Linked DNA regions of Homo sapiens: all the other regions are linked to region 1. Evidence: promoter capture Hi-C in 16 types of primary human blood cells and fetal thymus (Javierre and others, 2016). All regions are on one chromosome and are shown on one strand. The core of a region is centred on a gene start or on the middle of the fragment in contact, and the rest is flanking DNA. Distances in the headings are between cores, read along the strand shown. Region 1 holds the start of GSG1L (GSG1 like). Region 2 overlaps GSG1L (GSG1 like). Region 3 overlaps GSG1L (GSG1 like).

Region 1 (4,167 bases), core at 501-3,000:
CGGAGGTTGCAGTGAGCTGAGATTGCACCACTGCACTCCAGCCTGGGCGACAGAGTGAGACTCCATCTCAAAAAAAAAAAAAAAAAAAAGATGCTACTGGATTCTTTACAGCTGTTTGGCGATGATGTATTTTCTCTGTCAACCAATACTCTCAATGCCACCATTATCACATGGAGGTCCTCTCTTTCAAAATAGTTGAGAATCTCTTGCACAGTGCCAGAAAAGGGCTCTAAAAGCAAGTTTGGAGACCCTTGGCCATCCTTCGTGCCTGCTCTTACCAGGGACGTTGCCCACAACGTTTTCCTCTCACCTACCCCCCGGCAGATTAGCAGCAGCTGACAGTGGGTGCCGGCTCACCCACAGGAGTAAGGCAATTCATAATCGGTTAACCTTGAATTCTGCAAGGCCTGCCACTCGGCAAGCCGGGGGTTGTCGGAGCAGTTCTCAGCTTGGGCAGAATTCAAATGAGCTCTTATAATCAACATGCAATTAATTGTTGCACGCCCTGAGCATCTGGGCAGTAAGTGCTGTGCAGCGCGAAGGGAGTTCAGGGAGCGTGGTCATCTTAGAGCAGAGGTGGGGACGGGGTTGCACACAGTTTCCACGTTGCACAGGAGAGCCTGAAGAGGTTTGTCTGAGTTTGGTCAACTGATCTTGGTTCAGATGTCAGTAACAGTGAATTATTAATTGAGTCTACTGTGTGCCAAATGCTTTTTGCAGCCATGATCTCATTACAGCAGCCCACTGTGATATACCTTGAAGGGGGGGGGGTCCTCCCTTTTTTATAGTTATGGAAATTGAGGCTCAGAGAGGGTAAGTGACCTGTTCAAAGCCACACAGCTGGTCAAGCCCTAGATATGCTTGATCCCAAAGTCAGTATGTTTGGCCACCCTGCCCCCACCCGAATCTTGAAGATTCTACCCACATTCACATGGTGTGCATGTGAGCAGGGTTGGCAGCCCCTGTAGGGCACCACTGCCTGGTAGCTGCAATAACTTTGTGGCCGGCATGGGCCCTCCTAGGGTTCTGCTGTTTGGGATCTCAGGTGGGTGCAGTGGGCTGTCTGGGGTACCCTGTTGCCACTCTTCCTGCAGTTGCATGCCATGGTTGGGAGCCCAGATGACAGTTTCATCCTTGGAGGGGAGCTCTTCCCAGATGCTGGAGGTGACACCCAGGAGACAGAAAAACGTTTCAAACCCTATAACCCAATACTCCAGGAGGGGCGCCTCCTGACAGATTCTGCCACTCCAAGTCCAGCATGGGTTGTCTTATCCAGGGGGTCTTGCAGCTCCCTGGCTGTGGGAAGCCCTGCAGGCTCTGCTGTTTAGAACCTTTGGAAAAACTCCTTTCTCAGGGTCTGGTGCGGGGGTCCTTTTGGGGATCCCCTTCTGGGACAGGGTCCTGCTGGTCCGTGTCCCTCTTGGGGAGCCCCAGCAGGCTCTGCCCTTGTCTCCTGGGGCAGGGCCTCTCTGGGTCTCATGAGATGCCCGCTCCCGGCGGGTTTTGTTGCCCCACGTCCGCCGTGGGGATCTTTTCTCAGGAGCGCCTTGCCTGGGATTCTCCTTGCGTCTCAGACCCTCACCCTGGCTCGGATTTCTTTCGGGGGCGTCCCTCCACTCCCAGGCCCCCGCCCGCGCCCGGCGTGGCGGCCCCCTCTCCCCGTGCGGGCGGGCTCCGGAACAGTGTCGCCGGCCGCCTGCAGGTGTCTCCCCACGGAGGGGCGCGCGTCCCTGCGCCGTGGCCGCTGCCAGGCGCCAGCGGCTCCTAGCCGAGGTGCACTCGCGCTCCGGGCTCCGGGCGCGCCGTAGCCGCTCCTCCACCGCCGCCCGCCCCGCCAGCCCGCCCCGCACGCCCCCCGCGCCGCGCCCCCACCCCGGGGTTGGGGGGGGCATGGGCCCGCGCCGCGTCCGCCGCCGCCGATCTCAGGCACCCGAGCCCCGGGGCGCGGCGGGCAGCGGCCGCTGACGCGGGGCGCCAGCTGCCAACTTCGCGCGCGGAGCTCCCCGGCGGTGCAGTCCCGTCCCGGCGGCGCGGGCGGCATGAAGACTAGCCGCCGCGGCCGAGCGCTCCTGGCCGTGGCCCTGAACCTGCTGGCGCTGCTGTTCGCCACCACCGCTTTCCTCACCACGCACTGGTGCCAGGGCACGCAGCGGGTCCCCAAGCCGGGCTGCGGCCAGGGCGGGCGCGCCAACTGCCCCAACTCGGGCGCCAACGCCACGGCCAACGGCACCGCCGCCCCCGCCGCCGCCGCCGCCGCCGCCACCGCCTCGGGGAACGGCCCCCCTGGCGGCGCGCTCTACAGCTGGGAGACCGGCGACGACCGCTTCCTCTTCAGGAATTTCCACACCGGCATCTGGTACTCGTGCGAGGAGGAGCTCAGCGGGCTTGGTGAGTGCGCGCGGGCGGCGGCCAGCTCGGCTCCGGCTCCCCCGGGGCGGCGCGGCCATCGAGGCCCGAGCCCCGGACCCGTTCGCCCTCCTCCCGCCGCCTGGGCCCAGCTCCCAGCGCTCCGCCTGGCTAGGGGCGACGTTCCGGGGCAGGGGGCGCGCGCCGTTCCGGGGCCGGGGACCAGCATGGGGGGACGTGCGGGACGCCCCGCCGTGGAGAGGTGCAAGGCAGAGCTCCTACCCGCTGCGGACGCCCCGCGGCTTTGGGGACGCTCCCGCGCCCCGGGAAGGCGCCCACCCCCGCTGCCGGTCGGAGGGGCGCGCGCTGCTTTCCGCTCCTGAACTCATCTCCACGCTCGCCCCCTCCTCCTCTTCCTTTCGCGGGGCACTAGATGCCCCCACCCACCCCGGAACGCCCCTGGGGGTGGGGGTGATGCAGGGACTCCTGCTACCAGCCGCCCCTCCTGCCGCAGATCCACAGACCCGGGAGCCTTCCACCCCCATCGCCAACCCACGCCGAACCTCCCAGACGGGAGTGGGGAGTGGGGGAGTCCCGCGGGCTCCCGGAAAGCCGCACCCGCCCAGAGGCACCCCTATTGCCAGACGCCAGGGAGCCCTCTGTATCCTGGCCCCCTCCTGGGAGAGGCAGGCTAGGGAACTGGGGACAGCTGGGCAAACTCCGGGTCGAGGAGTCCAGGAGGGCTTAGCTTAGCACAAGGCTCCTATTAGGTTCGGTGGGGGACTGACTTTTCAGAAGGCAGATCAGACTGTCCCCTTTGCCTGGACCCCCTCCTCTACCCTCCAGAGGCAGCCTGGGCTGGAGTGCGTGTTTTGGAGGCAGACAGCCGGGCTGTGGCAGGGCCCAGGGGACAGCTGCCGGACAGCTGGTTGTGCCACACAGCAGGTAGAGCTGGCCCGAAAGACGTGGTATCTCTGAGCGGGTGTCCAGGCATGGACACCCTCCTGAGTGAATTGACCTCTTTCTCCAAGGTTAAAACTCCTCCCTGCATGCCTAGCTCCTCAGTGTGGACACCACACATATGTGTGTGCTCAAGGGTGGGTTACAGCAGACCTCCACCCTTAGTTTGCCCTAAATAAGCCAGTGGCCTAAGTGGTTTAGAGGGCAGAGGGAGGAAGCTGTGAAGCGAACCCAGTGAAAAGCTCCAGGCCTCTGCACAGGCTGCATCCTCTGTCTGGAATGCCCTTCCCCGCCCCACCTCCTTCTTCAGGGGCTCCTTTCACTGGGACTCTCCCACCTGCCTTCCATGTCAGGATACTGAGGAGGGACAACCTTGTGAGCTCCCCGTTGGAGGGAGGGTCTCCATCTTTGGATCTCACCACTGCGTTTATCTCCCTGCCACACTTGGCACTCCCTGACATTTTCTGGGGCCTGTTTTTGGTCACTAGCTTATAGTCCCCACTCCCCATAGGATGTCACTCTGTGAGGGCCAGCCCGGTTGGTCTTGTTCACTGCTGCCTCCCAGTAATGTCTAGCGCATAGTAGGTCTTCAATAAACATTTGCCGGGTGCATACTGGATGGGGTTGGGATGATGAACCGGAGGCTTCCTGCGGTGCTGCCTCCTCTGTCTCTCTTCTGGGGGTGGCTGACCAAACTTTTCTGTGACTTGAGCCAGGCTGGCCGTTTGTCAGAGATACATGGTGTTTGAATATGGACCTGCCCCTGATTGGTTTCATCCCATCAGACCCACTTCTGGTTTACACTCAACACTCAAATGTTTACTGTGGGATGCAATTAAAATTATTAACTTCAAAAGGCAT
Region 2 (4,167 bases), core at 752-3,251, 110 kb after region 1:
ATTTTGGGGAAAAATATCCTCCAGTAACTTCCTGAGAAAGACAGCATGGTTGAGACCCTTTATGTCTCATGTTGTTTTTATTTGTCTGTCACACTTGACTAGATGTTTTGCTGGGTATAAAATTTTAGGTTGGAAATAATTTTCCCACAAAATTTGGGAAGGATTGGCTGCTCCCTTGTCTTCCAGACTCCAGTGTTGTTGAAAATTTCAATGTTATTCTGATTCTTTTGTGTGATCTGATTTTTTCCCCTCTCTGGAAGCTTTTAATATCTTATTTTCTGTTCTCACTTTTTTTTAATCTTCCATTTTCATTTTTATTTGCCTTTTTATTTATTCCTCAGATATTTATTCAATTTTTATATTTCAATCAGCCAGTCTACTTTTAACATTTCTACAGTCATACTTTTAATTTTAAGAGCTTTTTCTTGTTATAGGAATGTTCTTTTTTTTAATAGTCTCCTGCTTTTGTTTTATGGACACAATATCTTCTCATATTTCTCCAATGATATTAATTTTTTTAAGTTTGCTTCTCTACCCTTTAATGTCTCTGTTTCTTCCAAGTTCTTTTGCCTATCTTATTTTAATTTCAACTGTCTTTTATATTGTTTTCCTTAAACATCTGATGTTCACGTTTAACAGTGAGGTGCGAACTTACTATTTTGAAGCTCAAGATACAGTGGAGATGGGGAGAATATTGGCCAATGGACTTCCCAATCATCTGAGCTATAAACTCCTCATCCAAAAAGTTCATTTGGGCCAGGCATGATGGCTCACATCTGTGATCCCAGCACTTTGGGAGGCTGAGGCAGGAGGATTGCTTGAGGCCAGGAGTTCCAGACCAGCCCAGGTAACATAGTGAGACCCCTGTTTCTATGAAAAATTTAAAAATAAAATTAACTGGACATGGTGGTGTGTACCTGCAGTCCTAGCTACTCAGAAGGCTGAAATGGGAGGATTGCTTGAGCTGGGGAGTTCAAGGCTGCAGTGAGCTAGGATCGTACCACCACACTCCAGCCTGGGTGACAGGGCAAAACCCTGTCTCAAAAACAAAATGAAACAAAACAAAAAGTTCATCTGATGAACCCATACGCACTGTCACGAGGCTTTTTCTCTTGCACTGATCAGTTTCCCGCAAGAGGAACTCTCCCATCTCCAGTGTATTAATAAACTCAGCCATCAGCATTCTGGGAATCAAATGGGGGGCCTGGGAGGTATCTCAGTGGCACACATGTAGACTTTCACTTAATTCTTGGTTTTCAGTATGGAGCTCAGCTGGGCCTGGTTCCTCTATTTGAAGGATTTTCTGAAGTTTCCTCTGTGGCTTCCTCCATGCGGGTAGTCAACTTCCAGCCTTCTCCTATCTGCTAAGTCATTAACCAACTATTCATGAAATTTCTAGCTTTTAAAATGTTGCTGCCATCTTTTTTTTCTATTGTTATCTCTTGTCACATCCTCTTTGTTCTGAGGATTTATGACTTTCTTATTCCTTAACTGTAATGATTGGCGGTATTGAAAGAGAGCAGTGGCCTTTGGTTCAGCCCCATGTTCAATCCCAGGTTTGACTTTGTAAACCCAGGTCTCTCTCCTGAGCTCTAGATTCCACCTCCAACTGCCTCCTGGACACTTCCTCCTGAGTGCCCCCAGGGACTGCAAACTCAGCTGGTCCACAATAGAAAACACTTGACCCTTCTTTGTCCATTGTCCTGTCTTCACCATTATCTGCTCTGATTCCAAAGCCAGGAACCAGAAGGTCATCCTCAACTCTTTCCAAATTCAATTATTTGACAAGTTCAGTTTCTTTTGTTTCATAAATATCTTTGTTTCTTTGTTTTTTTGAGATGGAGTCTTGCTCTGTCACCTAGGCTGGAGTGCGGTGGTGCAATCTCTGTTCACTGCAGCCTCTGCCTCCTGGGTACCAGCAATTCTCCTGCCTCAGCCTTCCGAGCAGCTGGCATTACAGGCATGCACCACCATGCCTGGCTAATTTTTGTATTTTTAGTAGAGATGAGGTTTCACCATGTTGGCCAGGCTTGTTTTGAACTCCTGACCTCAAGTGATCTGCCCACCTTGGCCTCCCAAAGTGCTGGGATTACAAGTATGAGCCATTGCACCCAGCCTATCTCCTAAATACCTTTTGCATTGGTGCGTCTTCTCTATCTCCACTGCCACAGCCCCTTTCTGCTTCTCATCACATCTCTCCTGCCATGACAATAATCTCTCAGTTGGCCTCCCAGACTCCAGTCTGCGCTGCTTAAAATCCATTCCTCAATGCTCATCAACACACCTAATGGAAAACTATAGAGCAACGAAAATGAACAATGTACAGCCAGGCATGGTGGCTCATACCTGTAATCCTAGTGCTTTGGGAGGCCAAGGTGGGAAGATCGCTTGAAGCCAGAAATTTGAGACCAGGCTGGGCAAAACAGCAAGACCCCATCTCTATGAAAAATTTATAAATTAGCCCAGTGTGGTGGCACGCACCTGTACTCCCAGCTACTTGTGAGGTTGAGGCAGGAGGATCACTTGAGCCCAGGAGGTAGAGGTTGCAGTGAGCTGTAATCATGCTGCAATCCAGGCTGGATGACATAGTGAGACTCTGTTTCTAAAAGAAAAAGAAAAGAAAAAAACAAATATGACTGCTCACAACATGGATGTTAGGTAAAAGAAGCTGCATTCAAAAGAATACATTCCATATGATTGCATTCCTGCAAAACCGGAAAATGCAGAAGCCCTATCTGTATTGTTAGAAGTTGGGTCAGCGGTTGCCCTTGCAGAGAAGGTGTAACTGAAAGGGAACTTGCGGAGGGCTTGGCAGCTGGCAGCATTATGTTTCTTGATCTGAGTGCTAATTATGTGTATATGTTCAGTTTAAAGGAAGTTCACCAAGCTGCATGCTTAGGATATATGCAGTTTTCTGTGTGCGTGTTGTATACTTTGCTAAAAAGGAAAGAAAAGTGTTTCCTATGCTGAATTTCAAATTATCTTTCTAAAATGAAAATCCAGTTACATCAGGCCCCTGCTGAAAACCTTTGCATGGCTCTCAAACATACACAGGGCATTTTAACCTGGCATTTATGGCCCAGCACGGTCTAGTTCTTGTCTGCCTTTTCAATCCCTGCCTCCTACAGTCCCTTATGTGAATCCTGTGCTCCAGTCCTGATGCTCTGCACACATCCATTTCCCCCAAACTATCCATCACCTCTCATGCCTCTGTGCCTTTGCATGTGCTGTTCCCTCTGCCTGACTTGCCTTTACCACCTCGTTTGCTTTGCAAACTTATATTCATCCTTCAAAACCCAGCTTAGAAATGACCTTTTGTGAAAAGCTATCCCTAAACCCCCAGAGGAACCTACTTACAGAGACTGGTCCTCTGAGCACTGATCCCGCTGTGTTGTGGTGACCTCCTCCAGCAGGCTGGATACTCCCTCAACACAAGCACTGCATCTTGTCTTTGTGGCGCCTGTGTGCCCGACGGGGCTGTACAGAGCAAGAATTTAGTAAAGGTTTGTTGAATAAATGAATGGGTGAATGAGTGAATGAATAGGGGCCAGGTTATAGATAGTGGGTGGCCCATTTGGGCTTAGAAACCTGGATCTGACTCCTGAAGCTGTGATCTCCTCTGACCCACCTGGGTTGAACTGTATTTTAAGTCATCCCTGCTCCCTGCTCCTGTTTCTTGGTGCCCTGGGATTTCTGGCAGCCACCAGCCAGCAATTTTTGTGAAGCAATCTCCAAAGCTTGTAGGTTTCATTTGTTTAATATTTCAGGGATGTGTAACAATGTGGTTGGCTCCATGGTCACACTCTTGAGTCTTGCGTGAGTCATTTCTCACTTCAGTTCCTATAATAGTCTCTTGTTCGTTCCCTCAACCTCTCTGTTCTCCGCCTGAAATCGATTTACAATTCTGCTGCTCACTTAATTTATTTAGTGCTTTTTATTGATTTATGTCATAGAACTGAAACGTGCATAGATCAGAGCATGCTGAGCAGAGAGGGGAGCCCCTCTCCACAGCTGCTTCCACAGCTGCCCAAACTGACATCTGAGCTAAAAACAGGTCAACCTACTGGCTGCAGCCGGAATACGCCAGGTGGCTAGAGCATCTTTTTGCCTGAGAGTTAATCAATGCTCTTTACACCCCTGGCTGTCTGGGGAACCCTCCATCAACCT
Region 3 (4,167 bases), core at 418-2,917, 82 kb after region 1:
TTTCTCTTTCAAAGCATGCTCTTGGAGAATGAGATAGGGTAACTGAGGAGGGAGGATTGCTTGAGCCTAGGAGTTTGAGACCAGCCTGGGCAACATAGTGAGACCCCATCTCTATATTTAGAAAAAGGGCAGAAATAAGACTGAGATAAGGGGAAAATATTTGCCTTGCTTTAAACCAAACCAAACATATGGGATGACATTACAAAAATCACAATTCTTTAATTTATCAAGCTTCCCTGAAACTGAGTCCTTGTCCTGCACCACGTGCCTCACATGTATTACCTCATTTATCTCCAGCTACCCTATGTGTAGGGCAGCACTAGCTGCTGTAACAAATAAGCCCTGAAATGTCAATGGAGTAACAGTAGAAGTTTATTTTCTTTTATTAATTTTTATTTTTATTATTATTTTTTTGAGACAGAGTCTTGCTCTGTCACCCAGGCTGGAGTGCAGTGACATGATCCGGGCTCACTGCAGCCTCAAACTCCTGGGCTCAAGTGATCCTCCTTCCTTAGTCTCCTGAGTAGCTGGGACTACAGGCATGCACCGCCATGCCCAGCTAATTTTTGTATTTTCAGTAGAAACAGGGTTTCAACATGTTGTCCCAGCTGGTCTGAAACTCCTGGACTCAAGTGATCCTCCTGCCTTGTCCTCCCAAAGTGCTGGGATTACAGGTGTGAGCCACTGTGCCCAGCTAGCAATAGAAGTTTGTTTCCTGCTCATGTAACATGTCAGCACAGGTGGTCCTGGTGGATGGCAGTTCTACTCTACATAGTGTTTTGGGATGATATGGTTTGGTAATTTGTCCCCTACAAATCTCATGTTGAAATGTGATCCCCCATGTTGGAGGTGGGGACTGGTAGGAGGTGTTTGGGTCATGGGCGTGGATCCCTTATGAATGACTTGGTGCCCTGCCCACGACAATGAGTTCATGCAAGATCTGGTTGTTAAAGAAACTGGAAGGTCCTCTCCTCTCTCTTGCTCCTGCTCTCACCATGTGATACGCCTACTCCCCCTTCACCTTCCAACATGAGTAAAAGCTTCCTGAGGCCTGACCAGAAGCAGAGCAGATGCTGATACCATGCTTATATGGCCTGCAGAGCCACGAGCCAAATAAACCTCATACTCTATAAATTACCCAGTCTGAGGTATTCCTTTATAGCAACGCAAAATAGACTAACCCAGGGGACTATGCAACTTCCAAATTGTTCCATTTCATGGAGCCTTAGAGCCCTTTGCATCTAGGTGGAAGAGGAAAGAGAGAGTACACCCATTTCATAAAAGCCCTCCCCAGGAATTGCCTCACTTCACGCACACACACATCATATTGGCAGGAACTAGTCACGTGACCCACTGCTCACATGACCCCACTGGGATGCGGGGGATGCTGGGAAATATTGTACCTGGCTGGGCTGAGTGCAATGGCACAATCATAGCTCACTGCAGCCTTGAACTCCTGGGCTCAAGTAATCCTCCCACCACAGCTTTTTGAGTTGCTAGGGCTACAGGTGCGTGTCACCACATTGGCTCATTTTTTGTTTTTTATAGAGACAAGCTCTTGCTGTGTTGCCCAGACTTGTCTCAAATTCCTGGCCTCAAGTGATCCTCCCTCCTCAGCCTCCCAGCGTGCTGGGATTACAGGCATGAGCCATGGTGCCTGGCCAGGGCAGCTACTTCTTAGCAATAACTCCATACTACAGAAGATCACTTCTTTTGGTAGATAGCTAGCTGTTTCTGCCATACCTGATGTGGTAGAGGTGACAATTATAACCATTTTACAGATGTGGAAACTAAGACCCAGAGAGTCTGACCCCTGGGTCACAGAGCTTGTATGTGGCAGAGCTGAGACTTGAATTCAGGACTCTGTAAGTTTAAATCTCTTACATTTAATCACTATAATTCTAATTTTAGATAAGCATTTAGCTTCTTCAGCTTTAACATTCTTGAGAACAAAATTCTTCCCTTGATTTATACAAAATGCCCCAAATGCCCAAGCAACGTATGTCTGGAGGCCACGGTGTAGCAGTCATGATGCCAAGCGGGGTTTTAGTCTTCAGTATTTCATCCATTTGTAGAAACGATTATCCCCAGAAAGTTGACCTGCATTTTGGACTCCTGCCAGAAATCAAGGCATGGTACCATCTGTAAGAGATAAATAAATCAAAATATCATCAGCAGAGAAGTGTGTGCCATCTGCTGCCCCGTCAGTTGAACTGGCAGAGGCCTCCGGAGAATCCAAGGAAGTGCTTGCCAAGGCTCTGCCGCCAGCCCAGATAGTGAGAGGAGAAGCTTCACACAAGATCTGTTGGCATTTTTTTCCCCCAGCTGAATTCCTTGAATCTGGCCAGCAAAGGTGTATGAACTCTTGCCCTTGCCAACCAGTTAAAATCATTCCCCATTGGCCTCATTTGCTGGGGACCAGGACTGATTCTTCTCTGCCCGCCCAGCAAGTTGAAAGCACTCAACTATGAAGAAAATTTACCATGCACCTGCCAAAAAGCTTTGCTGCTTGTGGAATCTGGGTCTCGGAACCAGGGTCAAACTTTGAACCAGCCAGATTTGAGTCCACTTCGCTGGGCACGTCTGGAAGGCTGCTAGGTTCTCCTGCCACGTGTGGGGTCTCTGGAGGGTGTGTGGGACTTTCCTTAGGAGGAATGAATTTTACTAGGACCTGCCTGCTCTGCTAAGATGTAGTACAGAGGAATGACCAAATCAAAGGCTCTGTGCCAAGCTGTCTTGATTGGAATCCTGGCTCCACCACTAGCTGTGTAAAGTTAGACAAGTGATTCACTCAATCTCCCTCTGCCTCAGTTTCTTTTTTTCTTTCTTTCTTTTTTTTTTTTTTTTGTTTTTTGGTTTTTGGTTTTTGAGACGACATCTCACTCTATTGCCCAGGCTAGAGTGCAGTGCGTGATCTCAGCTCACTGCAACCTCTGCCTCCCAGGTTCAAGCGGTTCTTCTGCCTCAGCCTCCAGAGTAGCTGGAATTACAGGCATGTGCCATCGTGCCTGGCTAATTTTGTATTTTTAGTAGAGTCAGGGTTTCACCATGTTGGCCAGGCTGGTCTCGAACTGCTGGGCTCAAATGATCTGCTCACCTCAGCCTCCCAGAGTGCTGAGATTACAGGCCTGAGCCACCGTGCCCAGCCAGCCTCAGTTTCTTCATCTGTAAAATGGGTGTGGTCATAGGAGCTGCCTCATAGGCTGTCGTGCAGATTAGCAATTGATGCATGTAAAGCACTTAGAACACACGTTGGTAGGCGCATAAAGCATGTCAGCACGTGTTATTGGCTGGTTGACTTTGTGAAACTGTTGCTACTGCCTCTCTCTGTTGACCCTGCCTTCCCCGCCTCTCCCCACCTCCTGACTCCATGGAAGCCTCAGCAACACCATCTGGTGGGGTATGGAATTAAGTCACGATCTTCAGACCCAGGATCTGGGGATTCAGCCAAGGATGCTGGGCTCCTTAGTGACCCCTTCCCCCTGTCTCGTTGCCCACATCTCTGCTGCCAACCAGGACCTGGGCGCCCAATGTCCATGCCAAGGGTAACTTGGCAGACCCTCAATGCTCTGCACACCTTCTGCCAGCATTGGGCATCTGCCTCTGGCCACCCCCCTTGATTTTGCCTGTGGCCCTGCCAGGTTCCCCCCACCTGCTCAGGCTGAAGTTGCAGAATTACAGCCTCCTGCTTCTGGCTTGGGAAGACGCCCGGGCTCTCCTTGGGAGGAGTGACATGTGTCTCTAACTTAGGATCCAGGGAAAGAATTTTTAAAAAGCTCTTATTTATGGAGCCAAGCACAGGGCAGCCATTTTCACACACTTTCTCCCATTTCAATTCTCTCTCTCTTTTCCTTCCTTCCTTCGTTTCTTTCTTTCCTTTCTTTCTTTCTCTTTTCCTTCCTTCCTTTCTCTCTCTCTCTCTCTTTCTTTCTTTTCTTTCTTTCTTTCTTTCCTTTCTTTCTTTTTCTTTCTTTCTTTCCTTCTTTCTTTCTTTCTTTCCTTTCTTTCTTTCTTTTTCTTTCCTTCCTTCCTTCCTTCCTTCCTTCCTTCCTTCCTTCCTTCTTTCTTTCTCTCTCTCTCTCTCTCTTTCTTTCTTTCTTTCTTTCCCCTCCCTCCTGCCCATCTCCCTTTCTTCCTTCCTTTCTTTCTTCCTTCCTTCCTTCTTTC

What was found. The method cuts DNA at HindIII sites, captures the fragments that hold promoters and counts their contacts. A CHiCAGO score of 5 or more calls a contact.
Region 2: a fragment that was not itself captured here is called in contact with the fragment with the promoter of GSG1L in region 1 in 1 of 17 cell types (M2 macrophages); the score reaches 5.1 in M2 macrophages.
Region 3: a contact is called between a fragment that was not itself captured here and the fragment with the promoter of GSG1L in region 1, in 4 of 17 cell types (M0 macrophages, M1 macrophages, endothelial precursors and 1 more). The highest score is 7.1, in M0 macrophages.

The regions. Positions count from the first base shown.
Region 1 is chr16:28,061,297-28,065,463 of GRCh38, reverse strand. It overlaps GSG1L (GSG1 like), which reads left to right and starts at 1,750. Exons shown (of 7, transcript NM_001109763.2): 1 at 1,750-2,388. The coding sequence starts at 2,040. The HindIII fragment of the contact is 8,058 bases long and covers 1-4,167 here.
Region 2 is chr16:27,951,547-27,955,713 of GRCh38, reverse strand. The region is part of intron 2 of GSG1L (GSG1 like); the gene reads left to right. Among named protein-coding and RNA genes, the nearest start is that of GSG1L, 110 kb to the left of the region's middle. The HindIII fragment of the contact is 3,477 bases long and covers 263-3,739 here.
Region 3 is chr16:27,979,582-27,983,748 of GRCh38, reverse strand. The region is part of intron 1 of GSG1L (GSG1 like); the gene reads left to right. Among named protein-coding and RNA genes, the nearest start is that of GSG1L, 82 kb to the left of the region's middle. The HindIII fragment of the contact is 1,249 bases long and covers 1,043-2,291 here.